5 separate regions of the Homo sapiens genome follow, and regions 1, 2, 3 and 5 are each linked to region 4. The links are contacts of gene promoters, found by promoter capture Hi-C in blood cells and fetal thymus (Javierre and others, 2016). All regions are on one chromosome and are shown on one strand. Each heading gives the region's core, a stretch centred on a gene start or on the middle of the fragment in contact. The rest is flanking DNA. Distances are from core to core; before and after follow the strand shown. Region 1 has its middle 5.4 kb from the start of ZNF442. Region 2 overlaps ZNF442 (zinc finger protein 442). Region 3 has its middle 15 kb from the start of ZNF709. Region 4 holds the start of ZNF433 (zinc finger protein 433). Region 5 has its middle 56 kb from the start of ZNF823.

The links. Contacts are between HindIII fragments. The CHiCAGO score rates a contact against its expected background, and 5 or more counts as called.
Region 1: a fragment that was not itself captured here is called in contact with the fragment with the promoter of ZNF433 in region 4 in 9 of 17 cell types (total CD4 T cells, M0 macrophages, megakaryocytes and 6 more); the score reaches 8.3 in total CD4 T cells.
Region 2: a fragment that was not itself captured here is called in contact with the fragment with the promoter of ZNF433 in region 4 in 2 of 17 cell types (erythroblasts and endothelial precursors); the score reaches 9.0 in erythroblasts.
Region 3: a fragment that was not itself captured here is called in contact with the fragment with the promoter of ZNF433 in region 4 in 7 of 17 cell types (M1 macrophages, non-activated CD4 T cells, endothelial precursors and 4 more); the score reaches 7.0 in M1 macrophages.
Region 5: a fragment that was not itself captured here is called in contact with the fragment with the promoter of ZNF433 in region 4 in 1 of 17 cell types (naive CD8 T cells); the score reaches 5.5 in naive CD8 T cells.

Annotation. Positions count from the first base shown.
Region 1 is chr19:12,369,665-12,372,509 of GRCh38, forward strand. It overlaps a transcript of ZNF442 not described here. Among named protein-coding and RNA genes, the nearest start is that of ZNF442, 5.4 kb to the left of the region's middle. The HindIII fragment of the contact is 1,161 bases long and covers 740-1,900 here.
Region 2 is chr19:12,346,847-12,349,795 of GRCh38, forward strand. ZNF442 (zinc finger protein 442) reads right to left here. Exons shown (of 6, transcript NM_030824.3): 6 at 1-2,949. The coding sequence ends at 2,855. It also overlaps a transcript of ZNF563 not described here. Among named protein-coding and RNA genes, the nearest start is that of ZNF563, 15 kb to the left of the region's middle. The HindIII fragment of the contact is 1,845 bases long and covers 722-2,566 here.
Region 3 is chr19:12,498,627-12,501,680 of GRCh38, forward strand. No RefSeq gene overlaps it. Among named protein-coding and RNA genes, the nearest start is that of ZNF709, 15 kb to the left of the region's middle. The HindIII fragment of the contact is 4,354 bases long and covers 1-3,054 here.
Region 4 is chr19:12,034,175-12,037,250 of GRCh38, forward strand. It overlaps ZNF433 (zinc finger protein 433), which reads right to left and starts at 1,505. Exons shown (of 4, transcript NM_001308348.2): 1 at 1,363-1,505. The coding sequence starts at 1,365. It overlaps ZNF433-AS1 (ZNF433 and ZNF878 antisense RNA 1), which reads left to right. Exons shown (of 3, transcript NR_134929.1): 2 at 1,380-1,598. RefSeq lists silencers at 1,040-1,159, 1,170-1,219, 1,460-1,619. The HindIII fragment of the contact is 7,472 bases long and covers 551-3,076 here.
Region 5 is chr19:11,681,359-11,684,249 of GRCh38, forward strand. It overlaps the pseudogene ZNF833P. Among named protein-coding and RNA genes, the nearest start is that of ZNF823, 56 kb to the right of the region's middle. The HindIII fragment of the contact is 2,051 bases long and covers 359-2,409 here.

The sequences.
Region 1 (2,845 bases), core at 70-2,569, 340 kb after region 4:
AGGCAGGCGGATCACGAGGTCAGGAGATCGAGACCATCCTGGGTAACATAGTGAAACCCCGTCTCTACTAAAACAATAAAATAAAATAAAAATTAGCTGGGCGTGGTGGTGCATGCCTGTAATCCCAGCTACTCAGGAGGCTGAGGCAGGAGAATCACTTGAACCCAGGAGGCAGAAGTTGCAGTGAGCTGAGATCGTGTCACTGCACTCCAGCCTGGCGACAAAGCTAGACTCCATCTAAAAAAAAAAAAACACGACGAGAAAGCTGCCGTGACTTTCTTCTGTGGGTGGGGATTTTCATCTTACAATAAGGTATCAGTGATCTAAACCAGCAGTTCCTAACCTTTTTGGCACAGGGACTAGTTTCTTAGAAGATAATTTTTCCATGTACTGGAGTGGGGATGGTTTTGGGGTGATTCAAGTACATTACATTGATTGTGCACTTAAATATTATTACATTGTAATATATAATGATGTAATTGTACAGCTCGCCATACTATAGAATCAGTGGGAGCCCTGAGCTTGTTTTCCTGCAACTAGATGGTCCCTTCTGGGGGTGGTGGGAGACAGTGACAGATCTTCCAGAATCTCATAAGGTGCATGCAACCTGGATCCCTTGTGTGCGCAGCTCACAATAGGGTTCGTGCTCCTATGAGAATCTAATGCTGCCTCTGATATGACAGAAGGCAGAGCTCAGGTAGTAATGTGAGTGATGGGAAGTGGCTGTAAATACAGGTAAAGCTTTGCTTACTCGCCCGCTGCTCACCTTCTGCTGTGTGGCCTAGCTCCTAACAGGCCACAGTCTGGTACCGATCCATGGCCCAGGGATTGGGGATCCCTGATCTAAAGGCAACAAGGGGTCACTGGTTCTGGTTTACTCTGGTTTTGAGCAGGCCTTATCTTATTCTGATAATTGGCAAAGGGTCCTGAAGCTCCCAGGCCATCTGGAGTCCTAGTAAGCTAGCATACCTAAAGATAAACAGACTAGGAAAAAAAAATGTTATCCACTTTTTCAGAAAATAATTAGCGGCTGGGCATGGTGGCTCACGCCTGTAATCCCAGCACCTTGGCAGGCCGAGGCAGGTGAATCACGAGGTCAGGAGTTCAAGATCAGCCTGGCCAACACGGTGAGACCCCGTCTCTACTAAAAATACAAAAATTATCTGGGTGTGGTGGTGGGCGCCTGTAATCCCAGCTACTCGGGAGGCTGAGGCAGGAGAGTCGCTTCAACCCGGAAGGCGGAGGTTGCAGTGAGCCAAGACCGCACCATTGCACTCCAGCCTGGGCAACAGAGTGAGACCCCATCTCAAAAAAAAAAAAAAAGAAAGAAAAGAAAGAAAAGAAAAAGAAAATAATTAGCCATTTCAGCTGTTTTGCTTTCTCAGCTATTTTTCCAGGACTGGCCCAGTAACAAAAGTACCAGATATAAAAGCATCATGAATTGGAAGCTGGAACCCATGGCTAAAAAGAAAGAAGCCAAACATCAAGTGTAATTCAATGAAACAAAATCCTGAATCAACTTGTGATAATTGTAGTGTTTCCTGACAAGACAAATTGGCAAGTTTGAAAAACAAGAAAAAAAAGATGTCTGATTATAACTAATGAATGATATTCATGCCTTTAAAAATTACACACACATGCACACACACACTCACAATCTATTATCACAAGACTGTTCTCTCTCTGAAGAATCAACCATCTTTCTGTAAGATGCTTCATCAACCTTTCACATTAACTGCCTTTGGAGTAATATTATATACTTACTTTTTCCTAGACAGTTGTGAAAACAGGGTGCAGTGGGTCAAAGGTGGTGTCAGGGGTTTATGTTCAGATTTTGCATATTTTTACAAATTGCAGCAATTAACTAGTTCATTACTGTGTTGATTTAAATTCTTACAAAAGCTTCCAGACAAAAATAAACACTCATATAACCATGAGGAAAAAATTCAGAATAGAATGGAGTCCAGAAATAAGGCCACACACCTATGACCACCTGATCTTGGACAAAGCTGACAAAATCAAGCAATGGGGAAAAGACTTCCTATTCAATAAATGGTTATGGTTTAACTGGCTAGCCATAGGCAGAAGACTGAAGCTGGACCCCTTCCTTACACCATATACAAAAATCAACTCAGGATGGATAAAGACTTAAATGTAAAACCTCAAACTATAAACACCCTGGAAGAAAACCTAGGCAATACCATCCTGTACACAGGAACAGGCAAACATTTCATGGCAAAGACAACAAAAGCAATTGCAACAAAAGAAAACATTGACAAGTGGGATCTAATTAAATTTAAGAGCTTCTGTACAGCAAAAGGAACTATCAACAGAGTAAACAGACAACCTACAAAATAGGAAAAACATCTTCAAACTATACATCTGACAAAGGTCTAATATCTACCACCTATAAGAAACAAAGAAATTTACAAGAGAAAAACAAACACCACCATTAAAAAATAGTCAAAGGACATGAATAGACATTTTTCCAAAGAAGACATACATGCAGAGGCCGGGGGTGGAGGCTCACACCTGTAATCCCAGCACTTTGGGAGGCCAAGGTGGGCGGATTACCTGAGGTCAGGAGTTTGAGACCAGCCTGGCCAACATGGTGAAACCCCATCTCTACTAAAAATACAAAAAAATTATCCAGACATGGTGGCGGGCGCCTGTAATCCCAGCTACTTGGGAGGCTGAGGCAGGAGAATCGCTTGAACCTAGGAGGTGGAGGTTGCAGTGAGCCCAGATAGCACCACTGCACTCCAGCCTAGGTGACAAGAGCAAGACTCCATCTCCAAAAAAAAAAAGAGAAAAAAGAAATACACTTCAATCAATGCAATCATCT
Region 2 (2,949 bases), core at 394-2,893, 310 kb after region 4:
GACACATGCATACTTCCACATATCTCTCTCTCTATGAATAGTCAAATTCACAGACAGAGAAAGTAGAATGGAGATTTTCAGTACTTTGGGATAGGATGGAATAGGTAATTACATGTATGGAACACTAAGTAGATAGAGCAAGTAGCACAGTAACACGTATAAAATGATCCCTTCCTTTGTGTATTCTAGTTTGTACCAGCACTGTAAGAGGCTTCCAGATGAGCAGTTCCAGTGGTTAATGTTGGTAGTTCAAAGGGTAACACTGCCCTCTAGGCAACATCGTGGAGGTCTATTTGAGATATATTTCACTACAAGTTATTCTCATGAATACTTCAATGAAACAGCTCTTATCAAGGCCCCCAGTGACCAAATACTTGCCAAAATCTACAGTCAACCCTTTTTCCTTGTCTTATTCAAATTCTCAGTGACCTGTGACACAGCTGACCACTCTCCCCATATTGAAATACCTTCTTCTGGAGGCTTCCAGGAGAAGAAACCCATGTTTTCCTCCTACTACTTCATTGGGTGTTGGAAACCATTATGGAGTGAGGAAGTCAATGATTTCAGGAGCTTCTCCACTATTGATGAAGTATCAGGAATATCTCAAATGCTGCAAGGGAGGTTGGTGGGGAAAACAATCTATGACATGCTTGAAGACTTTATTGAGGAACACATTGACAGGACAAGAGCACCGCCATCTTTATAACACTCCACCATCCTAAGCTTTAAGTTTCTATTTGGCCACCTGGCCAAAACTGAAAATGTCAGCCCCGCCCATAACTTCAACAGAGAATAACGGCCCTAACTGTAACAGAACAGCCAGGACTTCCCCAACCCCTCCCTAACAGAATTTTGTTTCAAAGCACACTTCTCCACTGGGCCCTTTAAAAAAGCCTCAGGCTGTAAGAGAAGTTTGCACCTGACCCTGCCGCTGGAAGCCCTTCTCAGGTTTACTCCCAATAAAACTGTCTCAACTGTTGAGCCACCTTCTCATCTCTCCTTTCCTTAATCTTTCTATCCCAACACAAATAAGAGAGCATAAATACTAACAAGGAACTCGAAGATATACTGAAATTCTCTGCAGATAATGATGATAATGATGATGCAGAAGACTTAGAAGAGGTAATATCAAAGATGTGACACTTGAAACATGTGCAGCAGTTTTTGGGGCATCTACAGCCTCTGCAAGGTGAAAAGTATTAAAGATTACAATCCTCGCAGGGCACGGTGGCTCATGCCTGTAATCTCAGCACTTTGGGAGGCCGAGGCAGGTGGATCACCTGAGGTCAGGAGTTCGAGACCAGCCTGACCAACATGGTGAAACCCCATCTCTACTAAAAATAAAAATTAGCCAGGCATGGTGGCGAGTGCCTGTAATCCCAGCTACTCTGGAGGCTGAGGCAGGAGAATCGCTTGAATCTGGGAGGTGGAGGTTGCAGTGAGTCGAGATCGCGCCACTGCACTCCAGACTGGGCAATAAGAACGAAACTCAGTCTCAAATGATAAATAAATAAATAAAAATAAAAATAAAATAAAGATTGCCATCCTCAAGTAAGATCCTTCAATGGAACAAAACCTCTGTGTCACCCAAGGGATAACATGCCAACAAACACTGCAAGGATATTTAAAGAAAAAGAACCAGCTTCCTACAACAATGTTTCTAACTAAATATCTGCAAATATGAAGACAGATCCTTCAGTGTGTACACATCTTCAGCCCTCATGCTGAACAGATTCTGACATTAGTATTATTTAGTCTCTTCCAAACTCAGCATCTGCAATCAGAACCTGGTTCATCCAACACAGATGATCATCCTGACATCCTGTCAAGATTCAAGTGAGCCTGATGTCTCACTGTTTATCTACAGTGCCACCCATCTAGTCACCTCAGTGAATCATATTAGGCACCATACTGTAATCAGCATCATCATGATCATGATCATCATCATCATCCTTGGGTTATCAAGCAAGAAGGATCAGGATTTTCATAAGTGTTAACACACGATTCCAGGTCATTAAATAAAAGCAATCTATGATTGTTGAAAAAAAAGAAACTGTAGATTACAGGCTCATGCCTGTAATCCCAGCACTTTGGGAGACCAAGGCAGGCAGATCATCTGAGGTCAGGAGTTCGAGACCAGCCTGACCAATATGATGAAACCCCGTCTCTACTAAAAATACAAAAAAAAAAAAAAAAAAAAAAAAATTAGCTGGGTGTGGTGGCATGCATCTGTAATCCCAGCTACTCAGGAGGCTAAGACAGGAGAATTGCTTGAACCCGGGAGGCAGAGGATGCAGTGAGCTGAGATTGTGCCATTGCCCTCCAGCCTGGGCAATAAGAGTGAAACTCTGTCTTAAAAAAAAAAAAAAGAAAAAAAGAAACTGTAACATTCTAGGTGACATGTACTATGTAGGCAGGCCTGTGATGGTTGGGTCTGTTCTCAACAGCACAGGATTATTTTCATATCACGATTCTCTAAAAAAAATACAATAAAATGACTGTTTACATAGCTTTTACAACACATGAGGTATTTTAGTAACCTACTTTTTATTTTTACTTTTACAAAAGCTTTGGGTTGGTGAAAAATTAAGTAATCTAGGCATGATTTATGGGATGCAGGAGGATGTGGATAGGTTACATGCAAATGTCCTTTTATAAAAGGAACACAGCATCTGTGGATTTAGGTATGCTTAGGGGGTCTGGAACCAATCCCCTGCATATGGTTAGGGGATAACCATATTCAAAAGAAACATCTTAAGGCTTTACCATGTGTTTGCATTCATGAGGCTTATCTCCTATGTGATTTCTTTCACGTTTCTGAAATGAAATAAAATTAATGAATGCTTTTCCACATTTATAGAGTATCTCTCCAGTGAGTCCTTTTATGTCTATGCAAGGAACTGAGAGAACTCAGTGCCTTCCCACATTCCTTACATTCATGCATCTTCT
Region 3 (3,054 bases), core at 49-2,548, 460 kb after region 4:
ATTACAGGCGTGAGCCACCGTGCCCGGCCTTTTTAATGTATATTTTTAGACAGGGTCTTGCTCTGTCACCCAGGATGGAGTACAGTGGCACGATCGATCATAGCTCACTGCAGCCTCAGCCTCCCCTGCTCAAGTGATCCTCCCAACTCAGCCTCCTGAGTAGCTGGAACTACAGGCACATACCACCATGCCTGGCTAATTTTTGTATTTTTTGTAGAGGCAGGGTTTCACCAACCGGCAGGGTTGCCCGGGCTGGTCTTGAACTCTTGAGTTCAAGTGATCCTCCTAGCTCGGCCTCCCAAAGTGCTGGGATTACAAGTGTGAGCCACTGCACCAGGCCTCCATTCATTTTAGAGAGATAATACATGTGAAGGTTAAAAAAAAAAATCTATGAGACAGGAAAATCTAACATAAGACTCACTGTCAAGCATATCCTGGTTCATTCCAGGATTCTTGCTCCAGCCACCCCGCCCTTCGTAAAAACTTTTGGTAATTCCTTGTGCATCCTATTAGTGTTTCTTTATTAAAACAAGCAATTGCAGGCCAGGCGCGGTGGCTCACACCTGTATTCCCAGCACTTTGGGAGGCCGAGGCAGGCGGATTACCTGAGGTCTGGAGTTCGAGACCAGCCTGACCAACATGGAGAACCCTTGTCTCTACTAAAAATACAAAATTAGCTGAGCGTGGTGGCGGGTGCCTGTAGTCCCAGCTACTCAGGAGGCGGGCGCCTGTAGTCCCAGCTACTCGGGAGGCTGAGGCAGGAGAATCACTAGAACCCAGGAGACTGAGGTTGTGGTAAGCTGAGATTACGCTATTGCACTCCAGCCTGGGCAACAAGAGTGAAACTCCGTCTCACACAACAACAACAACAAAAACAAGCAATTGCAAATGCATGTTTTTCTTATCCATGTTTGCTCTTGTAATGAGTAGTTGGACTCCACCCTTTCTGGTATTTGACTGTTGGCAGATTCAGTGTCAACCCCCCTCTTCTTTCTAACAGCTGCCCACTGTCAATGGAATCACCAAACTCTCAAATATTTTAAGGCTTTATTCTGAGTCAGTATGAGTGACCACGGCCCAGAAAACGCAGTCTCAAGAAGTCCTGAGAAAGTGCACCAGTGGCAGCCAGGTTACAGTTATTTGGTATTTTTGAGACAGGGTCTCACTCTGTCGCCCAGGCTGGAGTGCAGTGGCACAATCTCAGCTCACTGCAACCTCAGCCTCCCAGGTTCAAGCAATTGTTGTGCCTCAGCCTCCTAAGTAGCTGGGATTACAGGCCTGCGTCACCATGCCTGGCTAAATTTTTTGTATTTTTAGTAGAGATGGGGTTTTGCCCTGTTGGCCAGGCTGGTCTTGAACTCCTGGCCTCAAGTGATCTGCTGGCCTCAGCCTTCCAAAGTGCTGGGATTACAGGCACGAGCCACAGCACCCAGCTACAGTTTGGTTTTATGCATTTTAGAAAGACAGGAGTTGCAGGCAGACATAAATCAGTACATGGAAGGTAGGCATTGATTTGGCCTGAAAAGGTAGAATATCTTGAAGCGGGGGCTTACAGGTTATAGGTAGACTCAGAGGTTCTTTGATTTACAGTTGGCTAAAGGAGTAAACATTTGGAGTCATTAGATAAGAATGAATGTTTGGGCCGGGCGCGGTGGCTTATGCCTGTAATCGCAGCACTATGGGAGGCCGAGGCGGGTGGATCACCTGAGGTCAGGAGTTCGAGACCAGCCTGGCCAACATGGAGAAACCCTGTCTCTACTAAAAATATAAAATTAGCCAAGCGTGGTGGTGGCGCCTGTAATCCCAGCTACTCGGGAAGCTGAGGCAGGAGAATCACTTGAACCTGGGAGGCGGAGGTTGTGGTGAGATCATGCCATCGCACTCCAGCCTGGGCAATAAGAGCGAAACTTTGTCTCAAAAAAAAAAAAGGAATGTTTAAGGAAGACAGCTGGGCTCAGGAGCCTATAATCCCAGCACTTTGGGAGGCTGTGGCACACAGATTGCATTAGGCTGGGGACAGTGGCTTATGCCTGTAATCCCAACACTCTGGGAGCCCAAGGCAGGTGGATTACTTGAGGCCAGGAGTTCAAGACCATCCTGGCCAACATGGTGAAACCCTGTCTCTACTAAAAATACAAAAATTAGCTAGGTGTGGTGTGTGTGCCTGTGGTCCCAACTATTTGGGAGGCTGAGGCAGAAGAATCCCTTGAGCCCGGGAGGTGGAGGTTGCAGTAAGCTGAGATTGCGCCACTGCACTCCAGCCTGGGTGACAGAACGAGACTCCATCTAAAAAAAAAAGTAAAAATGAGGTCGGGCGCAGCAGCTCACGCCTGTAATCCCAGCACGTTGGGAGGCCGAGGAGGGCGGATCATGAGGTCAGGAGATCGAGACCATCCTGGCTAACACGGTGAAACCCCGTCTCTACTAAAAATACAAAAAATTAGCTGGACGTGGTGGCGGGCGCCTGTAGTCCCAGCTACGCAGGAGGCTGAGGCAGGAGAATGGCGTAAACCTGGGAGGTGGAGCTTGCAGTGAGCCAAGACTGCACCACTGCACTCTAGCCTGGGCGACAGAGTGAGACTCCATCTCAAAAAAAAAAAAAAAAAAAAAAAGTAAAAACGATTAGCTGGGTGTGGCAGCATATGCCTATATTCCCCACTACATGGATCACTTGAGCCTGGGAGGTCCAAGCTGTGGTGAGCAGTGATTATGTCACTGTACTCCAGCCTGGGTGACAAAGCAAGAGACCCTGTCTCAAAAAAAAAAAAAAAAAGATAAGAAAATCTGTTAACCAATACACTGGGTCGGAATGACCTAGAGTTTGTGACTTAACCCTTGGAGAGCATGGCCTTAGGTCTTATTTATAATTTGGTATCTTATTGTCATAAAGAGTTTTGTTAGTTTTATGGTCTCTATTTTAACATTAATGCTGGTCAGTTGTGCCTAAACTCCAAAAGGGAGGGGTTATAACAGGGTGTGTCCGACCTCCCTTCCCATGGCTGGGAATTCAGTTTTTATTGTTTTTGTTCTTTCAAGACAGGGTCTCACTCTGTT
Region 4 (3,076 bases), core at 255-2,754:
TTACTAATTTATTGGGAAATGAAATATGGGCTTAACCAGGTACAATTGGTCGAGTAACCTCTGATTATACAACCAAAAATTTTCCACTGTATGGTCTGTGAAAATAAGTAATTCAAAAATTGAAGCTGTTGGAACTCTAAATTATCTTGAAGTTTAAAGTAATGTGACTCTGGAATTGAGTCACCTGACACTGGAAAGAGCCAGCTGGAACCCTCCCACACTTGACTACAGATTAACCATCAGACAGGCTTCACTATACCTGGACAGGCCTCATTATACCCGCTTCCTTTAGGAGTTTCCACATAGCCACTGACCCACCTTCATGTTAAAACAGACATCAGCCAACTGGAAACACAGACTCTCTGTGACAATAAGAAACCAAATTACAAACAAGACCTAAGGCCATGCAAGGCAAGAGGTAAGTCAAATCTTAGAATTCACAAAATCTAAAGAAACAGGTCTTTTGTTTTGGGTGGGATGAAATCATATGACAGATACCAGACCCTCTTCACTTAAGCAATCCTTCCTACCGCCTCGAAGTTTTAGACAAAGCTTCACACTCTCCACCAACGGCCACCTTCAGAATCCCTCAACCACCTGCACCTTCTAACCCCCCTTCCACAGGTCCCGCCCTTTCTGCCAAAGGAACTTACACCTTTCCAGGCATTGATGCATGATTCTCCCTGCAATTCCTGTCTCCCTGAAATGAATAAAAACAGTCTTGAGCCGCCTCGGGACCACTTACTTCAGGCCTCCTGGGGTTGTGTTTTCCTCAGCTGAGGCCTCTCCTATTCGGCTCTGAATAAACTTCTTTAAGTTATTTTACACAGCTTGGCATTTTCCGTTAACAAATTACAAGCCAGGACTGGGTGTTTATCATTCAGGAATCTCAAAGGAACTCTAATTATTAATATATTTTTTAAAACCTATTCTGAGAAGCAAAACTATAATTGTTAACGTGTCTCAGTTTAATTTTTAAGAGGAGAAAGGCGCTACTGGGGACCCCACAGCCCACCCTCCTCCTACACAAACCCCCACACCCGAGGCGGGATCCCCCCATGACCCTCGCGTAGTCCCCGCACAATGTGGGGAGACGCGGGGCAGCGGGCGCGGAGCTGCCCAGAGAGGGCTCTGGGAACTGGGTGACAGTCACCGCGCAGGGACAGGACGAGACGCCCGGGTCCCGGCGGCCGGCCCAGCCCCACTGTGGGGCCAAGGGGACCAAGGGCCGAGCTGTCCCACGGGAAATCGGGTCCCAGACCCCGGAGTCGCCGCGGGGAGGCCCGGGTCCCACCACAGCCGGTTCCGGCCGGTTCCAACCAGCTCCTCCCCCGCCTCGGGACCCCTGGCCCGCACGCTCACCATTTCTTGCCTTTCAGGTGACTCCCACGACCAGTGCGGGTCACAGCACAGGCGACAGAAGCTATGGCAGAGGCACCTGAACCCTCTCGGAGGGGAAAGCCAGGCTCCCAACCTCAGCTCGCCGCCTGGAGCCGGGAACCGAGGAGAGCAGGGCCTTCGCCCTCCCCGATGGACACTCGGCAGGCCCCGCCCAGCGCCCCTGATTGGACGAAGCGCCGGGCCCCGCCCCCTCAGCCGTGAGTGACAATAGAAGCCCTTGGTAACGGGGCTCTGAAAACGGGTTTGACCGGATCCAGCGATAGATTCTTTAAGCCAGAGGTCTGTAACCTTTTTAGCACCAGAACCGGTTTCGTGGAAGACAGTTCTCCTACGGGGGCAGATAGTTTCGGAATGAAACTTCCACCTCAGATCAGGCATTTTATCCTCATAAGGCGAACCCAACCTAGATCCCTCGCATGTGCAGCTCACAATAGGGTTCGGGCTCCTATGACAGACTAATGCCTCTGCTGATCTGACAGGAAGCATATCTCTGGCGATAATGCCCGCTGGCTCGCCCGCCAGCCGCTCACCTCCTGCTGTGCGGACTGGTTCCTTACAGGCCATGGACCGGGGGTTGGGGACCCCTGCCATAGAGTACTGTTGAATAGAAACTTTAGCTCGTCCGGCGGTGGGCTGGGGGGGTGGGGGTAGCTCATGCCTGTAACCCCACCACTTTGGGAAGCCAAGGCAGGCAGATTGCTTGAGCCTAGGAACTTAAGCCCAGCCTGGGTAACATAGCAAAACCCCGCCTCTACAAAAAATACAAAAATTAGTCGGGCGTGGTGGTACATGTTTGCAGTCCCAGCTACTCGGAAGGCTGAAATGAGAGGATCGCCTGAGCCCAGAGAGGTCGAGGCCACAGTGAGCTGTGATTTTACCAGCCTGGATGTCAGAGTGAGACCCTGTCTCCGAAAAAAAAAAAAAAAAAAAAGACAGGGAATTGCAGTGGAGTTTAATATACATAGAGCCGGCTAAATGAAAGAGAAGAGTTTTATTTTTATTCAATTCTGTCTCCCTAAAAAATGGGAGGCTAGGTTTTGTTTTTTTGGTTTTTTTTTGAGACGGAATCTCTCTGTCGCCCATGCTGGAGTGCAGTGGCGCAATCTCGGCTCAGTGCAACCTCCGCCTCCCGGGTTCAAGCGATTCTCCTGCCTCAACCTCCTGAGTAGCTGGGATTACAGGCATGCGCCACCATGCCCGGCTAATTTTTGTATTTTTAGTAGAGACGGGGTTTACCATGTTGGTCAGGCTGGTCTCAAACTCCTGACCTCATGATCCACCCGCCTCGGCCTCCCAAAGTGCTGGGATTACAGGCCTGAGCCCCCGCACCCGGCCGAGGCTAGGGTTTTAAAGATAATTTGGTGAGCAGAAGGCTGGAAAATGGGGAATGCTGATTGGTCGCGAAAAGGATATCACAGGAAGTCTCAGCTGTCTTCTTGCACTGAGTCAGTTCTTGGCTAGGGGCCACTGGAGCAGGTGAGCCAGTTTATTGGTCTGTGTGATGCCAGCAAATTTATCAGAATGAAGGGTCTCAAAAATACCTCAAACACCAATCTTAGGTCTTACAACAATAATATTATCCACAGGAGCAAGTGAGAAGGTTGGGAATCTTGTGTACTCTGGCCGCATATTTCCTGAACCATAATTTCTAATCTTGTGGCTAATTTCTTAGTTT
Region 5 (2,891 bases), core at 134-2,633, 350 kb before region 4:
CTTTGGGAGGCTGAGGCAGGTGGATCATTTGAGACCAGGAGTTTGTGACCAGCTCAGCCAACATGGTGAAACCCCATCTCTACTGAAATATAAAAACAAAGCCGGGCATGGTCATGCATGCCTGTAATCCCAGCTACTTGGGAGGCTGAAGCATGGGAATTACTTGAACTGGGAGGTCGAGGCTGCAGTGAGCCAAGATTGCCCCCCCTGCATTCCAGCCTGTGCAACAGAGCAAGACTGTTTCCAAAAACAAAAAAAAACAAAAAACCCTGAATTTGGGTTAATATATAAAAAATACTTATTTTGTACAATTCTCAAAGTTTGGAAATCCAAGGGCAAATGGGGTACATCTGGTGAAAGCTTCTTGCTCTTTACTGTCTGAGGCAGTGGAGATCACTAGGCACGGGGGCTGATTGTGCTAACTCTGGTCTCTTTCTCTTCTTACAAGGCCACAAGTCTTATTTGTAGGATAACCCATTCATTCATTACCTCTTCAATTCGTCAGTGGATTAATCCATTCATGAGGCAGAGCCCTCATGCCTCTTAAAGGGCCCTGCTTTCAGTACTGACACATTGGGGATCAAATTTCGTTATGAGTTTTGGAAGGGGAAATTATTCACACTTAGCAAGGGCTGATTAGGTACACTGCTTCTGCTGAAAATACCACACTCTCAGAGGGAAAATGGGAATTAGGCAAATACCATATTGTTTGCATAAGTAGTTAAGGCACACACAACCCCATTTATTAGTTATGTTGGTGCAGATCTTCCCAAATCTAGCCCCTAGATACCATCAAAGTTCAACTTTCTAAATAAACGTGTAAGAATATGCAGTCTCAGAACTGCTAATTTGTCTCTTATAGACAGTATGTTTGGGACTTTCTCATGAGAGGTAATACTGACCCACTATACAGAGAGACACTAGAGGTGATCCAGGCAGCATATCTCAGTCTCTGAAATCACCAATGAGAGGCATGTCCTTGTTGGCTGTCACTTTACTGAATATATTCAATTCTAGCATCAGAATTGCTGTGATGGAGAAAGTGAGTGTAGACAGAAGACAAGAGGCTGACCAAGTCATTGAATAAATTTTTGGAGTCCACAGCATCGTGTGAACTTCTGAAGTGAGTATAGATTCCTAATGCTGTTGGTCTGAACCTTCCTCCTCTGCCATGTGGGATGTTTCAGGACTCAGTGACCTTTGAGGATGTGGCTGTGAACTTCACCCAGGAGGAGTGGGCTTTGCTGGGTCCTTCCCAGAAGAATCTCTACAGAGATGTGATGTGGGAAACCTTCAGGAACCTGATGTCTGTAGGTAAGGGTGACATCATTTCTTCACTTAGTCAATTATAGAACAAGTGTTTCTTGGTCTTCTGCATTGCTCAATGATTTGGAACATGGTAGGGAATACAGCAGACCCTTGAACAAGGTGGGGGTTAGAGACTCTGATCGTCCACACAGTCTGTTAGGTGCCTGTGAATTTAGAGTCCCTAAAGAGTTAACTACTAATAGACTGCTGTTGACCAAAGCTGTATTGATAACAGAAAGTCAATTAATACATTTTGTATGTTTGGTATATATCTATATACATATATATGGCCAGGTGTGGGGGCTCACACCTGTAATTCCAGTACTTTGGGAGGCTGAAGTGGGAGGATTGCTTGAGCTCAGGATTTTGAGACTGGCTGTAGCAATGAAGTGATACCCTGTCTGTATAAAAAATAAAAAAAGTAGCCATGGATGGTGGCACACCTGTGTTCCTAGCTATTCAGAAGGTTGAGGCAGTAGGTTCGCTTGAACTGGGGAGGTTGAGCTTGCAGTGAACCATGATTGCACCACTACAGTTTAGCCTGGGCAACAGAGTGAGTCCTTGTCTCACTCTGTGTGTGGCTGGGCATGGTGACTTGCGCCTGTAATCCCATCACTTTAGAAGGCTGAGGCAGGTGCATCACTTGATGTCAGGAGTTTGAGACCAGCCTGGCCAACGTGGTGAAACCCCATCTCTACTAAAAATACAAAAATTAGCTTGGTGTGGTGGCATGCACCTGTAATCCCAGCTACCTGGGAGGGTAAGGGAGGAGAATCACTTGAACCTGGGAGGCAGAGGTTGCAGTGAGCCAAGACCACGCCACTGCACTCTAGCCTGGGCAAGAGAGAGAGACTCCGTCTCAAAAAAAAAAAAAGTGCGTATGTGTATATATGTTTAAGACAGGGTCCCTTGCTAGGTCTAGAGGCGAGTGCCACCATCCCCAGCTAATTTTTGTATAATTTTTTTGTAAGGTGGAGGGTCGTGAACTCCTGGCCTCAAGCATTCCTCCTCCCTAGCATCCCAAAGTGCAGGGATTACAGGCATGAGCCACCATGCCAAGCCTGTTTGGTATGTTATGTACTGTATTCTTATAATACAGTAAGCTTTTCTTTTGAAAAGGTTATCAAAAAAATTAGAAGAGAAGATATGTTGACTTTAGTAAGTGCAAGTAGATTATCAAGGTGTTCTTCCTTGGTTGTCTTCATATTGAGTAACCTGAGCAAAAAAGGAGGGTTTGGTCTTGCTCTCTTAGAGATGGCAAGAGCTGATGAAAATGTGCATGAGTGAACTGTGCAGTTCAAAACCATGTTGGTCAAGGTTCAACTGAACTTTGGTGAATAAATCAGCCATGGCCACAGTGTCCCATGAACATAGAATCTAATAATTTTTCTATAATTTTGTAATAACTTATGATGACTTTTATGGGTCTGCATTTTAGGAATAAAATGTGAAGACCAGATCATTGAAGATCAGTACAATAATTCCAAAAGAAATCTAAGGTCATTTGCACTTACAACCTAGAGCTATGTCCCTTAAGATATTGTTAGAATGACAACAAATGTTAAAAGCAAGCAAAGAAAATG